Linked DNA regions of Homo sapiens: region 1 is linked to region 2. Evidence: promoter capture Hi-C in human tissues and cell types (Jung and others, 2019). All regions are on one chromosome and are shown on one strand. The core of a region is centred on a gene start or on the middle of the fragment in contact, and the rest is flanking DNA. Distances in the headings are between cores, read along the strand shown. Region 1 overlaps TCF20 (transcription factor 20). Region 2 holds the start of NAGA (alpha-N-acetylgalactosaminidase).

Region 1 (5,026 bases), core at 1,444-3,943, 180 kb after region 2:
ACGCACCACCATGCCCAGCTAATTTTTGTATTTTTAGTAGAGACGGGGCTTCACCTTGTTGGCCAGGATGGTCTTAATTTCCTGACCTCATGATCCGCTGCTCACCTCGGCCTCCCAAAATGTTGGGATTACAGGTGTGAGCCACGGTGCCCAGCCTTTAAAAGCTTTTTTAACTGAAACACTAGAGTAACAATCTTGGCATTTTTAAACGTATATAATTATCCCTATATATAAAACTATTTTAACAAAAATAACTATTTTCATACAACCATTTTAACTCTAGAATAAAAATACTGTTATAGTGAGATTTTTTCAAATATTTAATTTAGTAGAGTCAAATGTTTAACAAAAATAAAATATTATGAAGTATATAGTATATATTTTAATAAAAGGCTAATAAACTGAATCAGGTCAATAAGAGAAGCAAAATACTGGTTTATAAAACTAAGGCCTTCAAGTGACAGGGGGCCATAGGAAAAAAACAACAAAACAAAAACTAAGGCTTTATTCATTTATAAGTGGCAAAAGAAAAAATTTCCTATTTCCCTATTCCCTAATGATTTAATGTAAACTAAAGCAAAGAGAATGCATTAGTTCACTCTTCCTTAGAAACCTACACCATCTACTAATTTGCTAATGAAATCAGATACATGAGTTCTACATGATCAGTGTTGTGACTTCACATTAGTAGAGACGCTACTTGAGTTGCACTGTCACTGGGTTCCAGAAAGAGAATTTCCTAACGAATCACTAAGAAAGCTTCTTCAACAGATACAGGACGGGCTAGTATCAAAATATAGAAAAAAAAATAAAGTAGAGATAATGCTTTGTCTGTTGAAAAATATTTATTAAACTTCTCTAAAAGGGATTACATAAATATATTATCTCAACTACTATAATTAGATGTCAATTCCAATTCCTTAGTAATATTTTCAAGATTTACCCCTTAAATATAGGCGTATGAAAAACCAAAAGCATCAACAAAAGTTTTATTTATATAAAAAGATTTATGCTGGAATGTTAAAATCTAATATTTTGATTTTGAAAGCAAGTTGATTTTTTAAAAACCCTGAAAACAGTAGAGTGAACTGGCATTCCTTGAAAAGCTGAACAAAATAAGTTTAGTAAAAACAAGTAATAAATTTATTAATTCAGAAAGGATCCTGAACCATGAACCAAAGAGAAAAAAGTAACTGAAGAGGCCGGGCATGGTGGCTCATGCCTGTAATCCCAGCACTTTGGGAGGCCAGGCAGGAGAATCACCTGAGGTCAGGAGTTTGAGACCAGCCTGACCAACATGGAGAAACCCTGTCTCTACTAAAAATACAAAATTAGCCGGGTGTAGTGGCGCATGCCTGTAATCTCAGCTACTTGGGAGGCTGAGGCAGGAAAATCGCTTGAACCCGGGAGGCGGAGGTTGCGGTGAGCTGAGATCGTGCCATTGCACTCCAGCCTGGGCAACAAGAGCAAAACTCCCTTTCAAAAAAAAAAAAAAAAAAAAAAAGTAACTGAAGCTTCCACAGCATATTCCTTTGAGAGCTGGCAGCGAAATTTTATTTACTGATTCACTCAAAAATATCTGCTAAGCATTAGCTACATATCAAGCACTGTTCTAGATGCTGGGAATATGATGGGCAACAGACAAGTCCTTGCCCTCACACAGCAGACTATTCTCCCAGGTAGATCCCAGGATGGTACTTCCCAGCTCCACTCCACTTTCTTTTTCTTTGTTTCTATAATCCAAAACTAAACTCTTCCTCTTCAAATGGCCACAAACTTATCCTGCAAGTTATATTCCAGCTCATTTAAATTAAACATTCACACAGGGTACAGGTTAAGGGCACAGAGTCCAGAGCCAGGGTGCCTGTGGTATCATGATATATACTGGGTATTGTCCAGCCCTTGTAACAGTGTTTTGTTATAATATTGGGTATGTTAAGGCCTGGGGAAACAATCTCTCACCTGTCCTCCATTCACCTGCCCTAAGGCAGGACTCTAATCCTTTCCCACCTCTCAGACTGTGGCTCTTAAGACCCTCCTCAGAGGGCGTCCAGCCCTATACCCTGGGAGAAGAAATTGACATCAGGAAACTTCCATAAAAATCCAAAAGGAGCTGGTCCCAGCACTTTGAGAGGCCGTGACAGGCAGATCACAGGGTCAGCAGATCGAGAATATCTTCACCAACACAGTGAAACCCCGTCTCTACTAAAAATACAAAAATTAGCCGCGGGTGGAGGCGGGCGCCTGTAGTCCCAAATACTCTGGAGGCTGAGGCAGGAGAATGGCGTGAACCTGGGAGGCAGAGCTTGAGAAGAGATGGCACCACTGCACTCCAGCCTGGGTGACACAGCAAGACTCCGTCTCAAAAAAAAAAAAAAAAAAAAGGTAGAGGAAAAACATGATTAGAGGTGAGAGTTTTTCCCAATTCCCAATCCTGGCTCTGCTACTTAATAGTTGGGTGACCTTGGGCAAGTCACTCAACCTCCGTTATTCAGTTTTCTCGTTTGAAAAACAGAGGTAATAACACTATCTCCTAACTTTTTTGTCAAATGTTTAGAACAAGTCCTGGCCCTTGGAATTTATTGTTTATATAAAAATATTCACAATGTTGGCTGGGCATGGTGCTCATGCCTGTAATCCCAGCACTTTGGGAGGCCAAGGCGGGCGGATCACGAGGTCAGGAAATCGAGACCATCTTGACCAACATGGTAAAACCCCGTCTCTACTAAAAATACCAAAAAAAAGTAGCCGGGCTTGGTGGTGCGTGCCTGTAGTCCCAGCTAGTTGGGAGGCTAAGGCAGGGGCATCACTTGAACCCGGGAGGAGGAGACTGCCATGAGCTGAGATCGCGCCACTGCACTCCAACCTGGCAACAGAGTGAGACTTCATCTCAAACAACAACAACAACAACAACAACAACAACAACAACAACAAAACCACATTATTTATTGTTATAAATGTTTGGGTAAATAAAATATGCTTGCCGACCTGTTTTGGAATCAACATGGGTTGATGCCAAAATTTCCTGTAAATCCATTTTATTTAAACCAATTGCTAAATTTTACAGATCCTTCTTATGCAGACTAGGGCTTTGGGCATGAGAAAATCAGAACAGTAAGAGGCCAAGATGATCAATTCATCATCTGTTTCCGGCCCTCCCCTCTCCTTCCCACCACCATCTCTCCTCAGTCAGAACAACGCCCCCAACCATGTATTCACACCTCTCTTCACAAAACTTTGTTCCATTTATGAGACTCAAGTGCCCCAGCCCCAGGTTCAAAGCTATTCCCACCTTGCTCTCATACTATTAGGCCCACGCTCCCTTCTGACCTTCCCCTCTGTCATCTCTAGGCCCTTAGCCTAAGGGCCCAGGGTTTGATTGATAATATGCTACATACTTTTGAGCCTTGGTTCCCAAAAGACCTCTCTTAGGAATGCTCTTTCTCCACTCTTCCACTTGTCTCTCTCTCTCGTCCATCCTTCAAGGTCTACCCAAATGCTCCCTCCTCTACCGGCTTCTCCAATATTCTTCCCATACTTGATCAGGAGGGAGCAGCCTCTTGCCTAGTTCTCCCCAGCACTCCAGCTACACCACTATTACAGCCTTATCAATCATTCATACGTTTGATAAATGTTAATTTTCCATATTGGACTCTCCCACAGACCCTGAACTCTAAGGAAAAGTGAAGTGTTTTATTTGATTTTTGTGTGTGTGTGCCTAGCATGGCAACTACTTAGCAAACTTGGCTGAACAGAAATTTTCTTTTTTCTTTTATTTTCTCTGATGTGTTTCATTCCCATAGGCTTCATTTGGCCTGTGTCCCTTATCTTTAGGGGAAGCCAACTTTCAGCACATGCGCTAGCCAATGTAGCAAAGTTTTTTTTTTTTTTTTAAAGAGACATTTAACAAATTATGCAGGCTGTGATGTCCTTCATTCCAGCTCAAATTTCTCCTACTGAATATGCTAGAACTTAAATCCACTTCCACGAAGACTTTCAACAAGAGAAGATGAAAATCCTATTCCTGCTATATTTAAACTCACATCTACTAGAAAAACAAAAAACAAAAAACAAAAAAGTAGCATTAAGTTCAATGCATAGTGTATCTTTTCATTTACATCTGTTTAGTAATGTACAGGTACTGGTAAATCTGTTTAGGTTCATTTACACTGACTGTATGTTGTGTTTATAGGAGTCATCTGGCTGGAATCTGGCAGGCATGTTCTCTACACTTCTGCCATGGAGTAACAATTCTATTTTATTGTTCTAAAACTCTCCAGGAGCCAGGCACAGTGGCTGATGCCTGTAATCCCAGCACTTTGGAAGGCCTAGGCAAGAAGATTGCTTGAGGCCAGGAGTTCAAAATCAGCCTGGTCAACATAGAGAGACCCCAATCTCTACAAAAGAAAATAAAATTAGCAGGGTGTGGTGGCATGTGCCTGTAGTCGCAGATACTCAGGAGGCCGAGGAAGGAAGATCATTTGAGTCCAGGAACTCAAGGCTGCAGTGCGCCATGACTGTATCACCACACTCCAGCCTGGGTGACAGTGCAACATCCTGTCTCAAAAATTAAAATAAAACCCTCCAGGAGAAATACCCAGCATTCCTTACAGGGCAGGCGGTTCTCTGGGTTCTTCACCTAAACCGCTAATATTCCATCTGACCCTGTCTGCTATGGTTTTCCTGCTTATATTTTCTCTGGATTTTTTCCCCTATTCTTTACTGATTTTAGTTACTCTTAGAAGAGCTTTGCAAGTTTTCTACAACAAATCCAAATTCAACATTACTTTAATAGAATTATGTGAACAGGACACAAAGACATAGATTAATAAGACATGGTGATCACCTAAGAATATACAAATTTGCGATGAAACAGACACATTCTATTTTAACTCTAATATACGGCTAGAGATGGGAAGGAGGGAGAAGTATTAGAGAGCAGAGGCTCAGAGGCAAAATGGTACATTCTTTCTCAATGCACTGGCAGGCAACAATGCAGATGATGGGGCTATAAAAGCAAAACACA
Region 2 (5,296 bases), core at 1,236-3,735:
TGGGATGGAGAACTCTGACCTTGCCCTCTTTTCTAGTGGACTCTCCACTTCCTGCCCCCGAATCTGCAGGGCCCTGGGCAAGGCTCATCAGGTGAGTGTGGACCTTACTCACCTTATGCAGTTCTTTGGGTCCTCATCACAGTTAATGTTGCAGCGGAAGCGTTCCCAGGCCAGCCAGCCCATGGGTGGTGTCTGCAGGAGCCCATTGTCCAGCATCAGCACCTGGGCCACATGTCCCAGCAAGAGCACTAGGGGGCAAGGGAGGAGGGGATGGTGACTATCAGTTGCCCCCACAGCTCCAGCCCTCATCCCACCCCATCTGTATGTTGCTCAGCCCTACAGAGGCTGCCTGCCTATATATAAGGGAAACTGGACTCCTGGGTTTAGGGTAGAATTGGCTCTTCCTGCAATGGCTGGCTCTTGCAAAGCAGTAAGTGGGAGGATGGTGCCTGGGCCAGGCAGTGGCTTGAGGTCTGGCCGTCACCACAGCATTGCTGGAATTAGCAAAACTAACACCTTATGTCCTAACCTTCCTATAACCCCCATCAGCTCCTCCCATCCCATATATAGAACTTAACAGTACAGATGCTCCTAGGCCTACCACGGAACTACGTTCTCATAAGCCCAGTGTAAGTTGAAAATATCACATCAGCCAGATGCAGTGGCTCATGCCTGTAATCCCAACGCTCTGGAAGGCCGAGGCGAGTGGATCACTTGAGGTCAGGCCAACATGGTGAAACCTTGTCTCTACTAAAAATTCAAAAACTTAGCCAGGCGTGGTGGCATGCGCTGTACTCGGGAGGCTGAGGCAAGAGGATCACTTGAACCCCAGAGGCGGAGGCTGCAGTGAGCTGAGATCGTGCCACTGAACTCTAGCCTGGGCTGTGACAGTGCGAGACCCCATCCCAAAATAATAAAAAAGAAAATATTATGTCAAAAATGTACTTAATACACCTAACCTGGCAAACATCATAGCTGAGCCTAGCCTACCTTAAAAATGTGGACAGGCCAGGCACGGTGGCTCACTCCTGTAATTCCAGCACTTTGGGAGGCCGAGGTGGGCGGATCACCGTAAGTCAGGGGTTCAAGACCAGCTTGGGCAATATGGTGAAACCCTGTCTCTACTAAAACTACAAAAAAATACCGGGGTGAGGTGGTGAGTGCCTGTAATCCCAGCTACTTAGGAGGCTGAGCAGGAGACTTGCTTGAACCTGGGAGATGGAGGTTGCAGTGAGCCGAGATCGCGCCACTCTACTCCACTCCAGCCTGGGTGACAGAGTGAGACTCCGTCTCAAAAAAAAAAAAAAAAAAAAAGTGCGACAACGCACATTAGCCTACAGCTGGCCAAAATCATCTAACACAAAGCCTATTTTATAATAAATTGTTGAATATTTCATGCAATTTACTGAATACTGAAACACAGGTTGTATACGTACTGTGGTTTCTACTGAATGTGCGTCGCTTTCACACCACAGTAAAGTTGAAAAATCGTTAAGTCGGGACCATTGGCCAGACTCCAGGTCTCCTGAGCCCCAGTCCAGAGCTCTTTGCTCTCTACCACAGACCCTCAAGAGGCCTCAGAGAGGCTTAAGAAGTAAGCCAGCCAGGATGGGCACCCAATCAGCTCACCTAAGTGAGACCTTTCCCCCTCGGGCCTCAGTTTCCTTATCTGTAATATGGAGTTACTGTAGGGACTGTACAGGCGGTTCTCCGCACATGCTGATATCCATCAGTTAGGGCCTCTGTGCTTGAGGGAGAGGAAGTGAGAAAGGAAGGGCCCCTTTGAAGGAGAAATGATTCCCGTATGGGGAAGCATCTCCTCCCTTCCTGCCCAGCTCTAAGTAAAAGAGAGAGGAACCTGTCTCTCCACATACCCACATTAGGGAAGAAGGGCCAAAGCACTCCTTGTAGCACTCACCCCTACCCTTCCAAGCCACCCCAGCCGGTGTAGGTACCTGTCTTCAGCAGCATCGCTCTGGACTCAGCTTCCGAGGACCTGACCAGATCTGGTCTGCGTGTATCAGCTGTATGTGTTGGGCTCTGGAAGCTAAGAAACGTCTGAAAAGCACTGGGGTCACGGCTGCCTGGCTAGCTCGGCCGCCCTCAACCTTAGGCGTGGATCGTACACTCGGTCCCCAAGTTGCCCGCCCCATCCCCAGCCATCACTTCCCGGAGCTTCAGTTCTTCCTTCAGAAATACGAAACAACGTGTCTTGGATGTCAGACCTCACACCCTCTGCAGTGCTGGGAGTCCCGAGGGCCTACGGGCCGCCTTCGGCCCCGCCCGGGCTCAGAAAAAGGCAGCCACTGGCTTAAGGTCACCAAGAAAGAGCGGAGGGGCGGGGCTGCGGCCAGGCTCCGGACTTCCAGCCGGGTCCGGGTTCCCGCCCTGGGCTCCCCAAAACCGCAGAGCCCCCTCCCACCGCACTTATCCTACCGAAGCGTTCAGACCTGCCGCCGCTTCTGACTCGAATCCGGTAACCTGATAAGTCCGAAGCGTTCCAGTGAGGGCGGGGCCTCACGAAGGCAACCCTTCGCGCAACCTATCAGAATCCCCCCTAGCAACGCTGTGCCCCGCCCATATGGGTCCGGCCTCCCAGCCTCCCTAAGCCCTTCCCCACTGGGCTCCCGCCCTGCGTGCTAGCGAGGCAGGCATTGGCAGAACGGACTCGGGGCTGTCCTTCGTGGCCCGGACCCCGCGAGGCCTGTCCTTCCACCTCTGTGGGGACCAAGAGGGCAAGGATCGTGCCAGGCTCACCGTGGGCGCTCAGTAAGCGGCCGTGCAGAGGACGGTTGAGGGCTTTGTGCAGAGGAAATGAGAGACTGCTCTGAAGCAAGGCCCGCCTAGTGAGCTGCTAGGAAAATGGAAGTCTGGGATTAATCGTCTCTACAAGGAGGGTGCGTGGGAGGCACCAAAGCAGGCGGTCACAGCTCCCGCAAAGGCAGCCGGCTCTCCTTCCCCGCCTGACGCTCAGGGACTACTCGCACAGACTGGGCTACTTCCTTCTTCATTCATTCATCAAGTATTTATTGAGAAACTGCTAAGTGCCAAATGCTTTGTTCTGGGCATTGTAGGGGCAGAAAGGTGTGATATTTTCCCTTACTCATCCCAAAGGTCACAGCGGACACTCCTACAAATAAAATATAGGTTAGCAAGAGAAAAGCATAATAGATTGATTTACTCAATGTTTTATGTGACTTGAGAGCCTTCAGGAATGAAGACACAAATACTCAGGGAAATCTTTATTTTTATGTCTCGGTTTGATGAAGAATGGACAGCCCTGGCCGGGTCTGGTGGCTCATGCCTGTAATCCCAGCACTTTGGAAGGCTGAGGCAGGGGGATCGCTTGAGGCCAGACATTTAAGGACAGTCTGGGCAACATAGTGAGACCCTGTCTCTACAAAAAATTAAAAAGCCAGGCAGGTGCCTGTGGTCCCAGCTACTCGGGAGGCTGAGGTGGGAGGATTGCTTGAGTCCAGGAGGTCGAGGTTGCAGTGAGCTGTGATTGTGTCACTGTACTCCAGCCCGGGCAACAGAAAAAAAAAAAAAGGAATAAGGAATGGACAACTGTGTATAAACGCGATTAGACAAAAGGGAATGATTTAATGTTAATAGCTGAGTGTGGAAACCCAGCAATGTCTGTTCAGATTCGGATTCTTCTTGTTCTCTCTGTGTGGCATTCCCTCCTGCTGGGAGGAGGGCAGGACCCCTTCTGGAATGAGAGTCTTATGACCTAGTATCAGGCAAGGTAGATCAGAGAATTCCTTTATGGCCAGGCCCGACACAGAAAGGTGGGGGATGTTTCCAGTAATATTTGTAGTTACTTTTTTTTCTTTTTTTTTTTCTTTTGAGACAGAGTCTCCCTCTGTCACCAGGCTGGAGTGCAGTGGCGCGATCTCTGCTCACTGCAACCTCCGCCGCCCAGGTTCAAGCGATTCTCCTGCCTCAGCCTCCCAAGTAGTTGGGACTACAGGCGCACGCCACCATGCCCAGCTAATTTTTGTATTTTTAGTAGAGATGGGGTTTCACCATGTTGGCCAGGATGGTCTTGATCTCTTGACCTCGTGATCCGCCCACCTCAGCCTCCCAAAGTGCTGGGATTACAGGCATGAGCCACTGTGCCCAGCCAATATTTGTAGTTGCTATAACTCACCTTAGGGAGGAGGATTTTTAGTTTCTATGGCCTGCCTTGCAGGAGAAAAACAGGAGAAAGAAGGGGGGCAGGAGAAGGTCAGAGAGATACTTTGCTTCTGAGGCTCTTCCAGTGTCCTTTGGTTCAAAGTACTCAGCATGCCCAAGTGCCATATTTTTAGGCATCGCTTTCTGAGCCCCAACAGCACCTTCACTCAGATGGCCACTGGGTGTCTCAAACATAACCCAGACCAAGCACCGGCCACTTTCCACATCTCAGATAATGACAACTCTCCTAGGTGCTCAAGCCAAAACTGTGCAGTCCTGCCTGCTCTTTCCCTCACTCCCCACATCCAACTCCTCAGCAAATCCTGTGTTCTCTACCTTCAACAGCCATTCTAATTCTGGCTGCCTCTCCCTCCCCGCTCTTGCCGCGTTTGTGACATCTCGCCTGGATAGTGGCAGCAGGCTCCTCACTGGTCTCCAGCCTCCACTGACATTGATTCTCACCACAGAAGCCAGAGTATGCCTTGAAATCGCTCAGGTCCCTCCTCACAGCCCTGTCTAGAGTAACAGCCCTCCCAGATTTACAGAGCCCCATCCCACCCCTTCTACCCCCACCTCCTACTGTCTGCCCCTCCCCAGGCCTCCCAGCCTCACTGGCCTTCTTGCAGGTCCTCAAGCACAACAGGCCTGAGGGCCACTGCGCTGACTGTTCCCTCTGCCTGGAATTGGCATGGCTGGCTCCCTCATTTCCTTCAAGTATTTGTCCAATGTTACTTTCTCAGTGAGGCCTACCCTGACCACTCTATTTGCAATTGCAACCTCCCTACTCCCACAATTTCCCATCTCCCTTACCCTCCTCTGTTTTTCCATGCCACTTATTATCTTCTAACACATTTATTATGGTGTACAGTATTAACTGAATAAAATTTAGTAGGGGAGACAGGCAATAAACAAGAAAATAAAAGCATGAGCATAGGAAAGTTTACTCTAGCAGTGAGTGCTCTGATGGAAATAACACCCCAGGGATGGGACAGAGACTGCAGGGCAGGTTGCTTTACAATGGTCCCAGAGGAGACCACTGAGCAGAGACTCAAATCTGTGTCCAGAGGCGTCCTGAGGAGTGGAGCTGCGGTTGGGGGTGGGAAGGAAGGCCATTCTA

The links. Contacts are between HindIII fragments. The study calls those that stand out against the background at their distance.
Region 1: a contact is called between a fragment that was not itself captured here and the fragment with the promoter of NAGA in region 2, in 1 of the 25 tissues and cell types used here (dorsolateral prefrontal cortex).

What each region holds. Positions count from the first base shown.
Region 1 is chr22:42,252,596-42,257,621 of GRCh38, forward strand. All of the region lies in intron 1 of TCF20 (transcription factor 20), which reads right to left. Among named protein-coding and RNA genes, the nearest start is that of TCF20, 16 kb to the right of the region's middle. The HindIII fragment of the contact is 7,259 bases long and covers 1-5,026 here.
Region 2 is chr22:42,068,327-42,073,622 of GRCh38, forward strand. It overlaps NAGA (alpha-N-acetylgalactosaminidase), which reads right to left and starts at 2,486. Exons shown (of 9, transcript NM_000262.3): 1 at 1,956-2,486; 2 at 113-248. The coding sequence starts at 1,971. RefSeq lists enhancers at 1-391, 2,747-2,796, 5,242-5,296 and a silencer at 2,267-2,566. The HindIII fragment of the contact is 6,054 bases long and covers 1,003-5,296 here.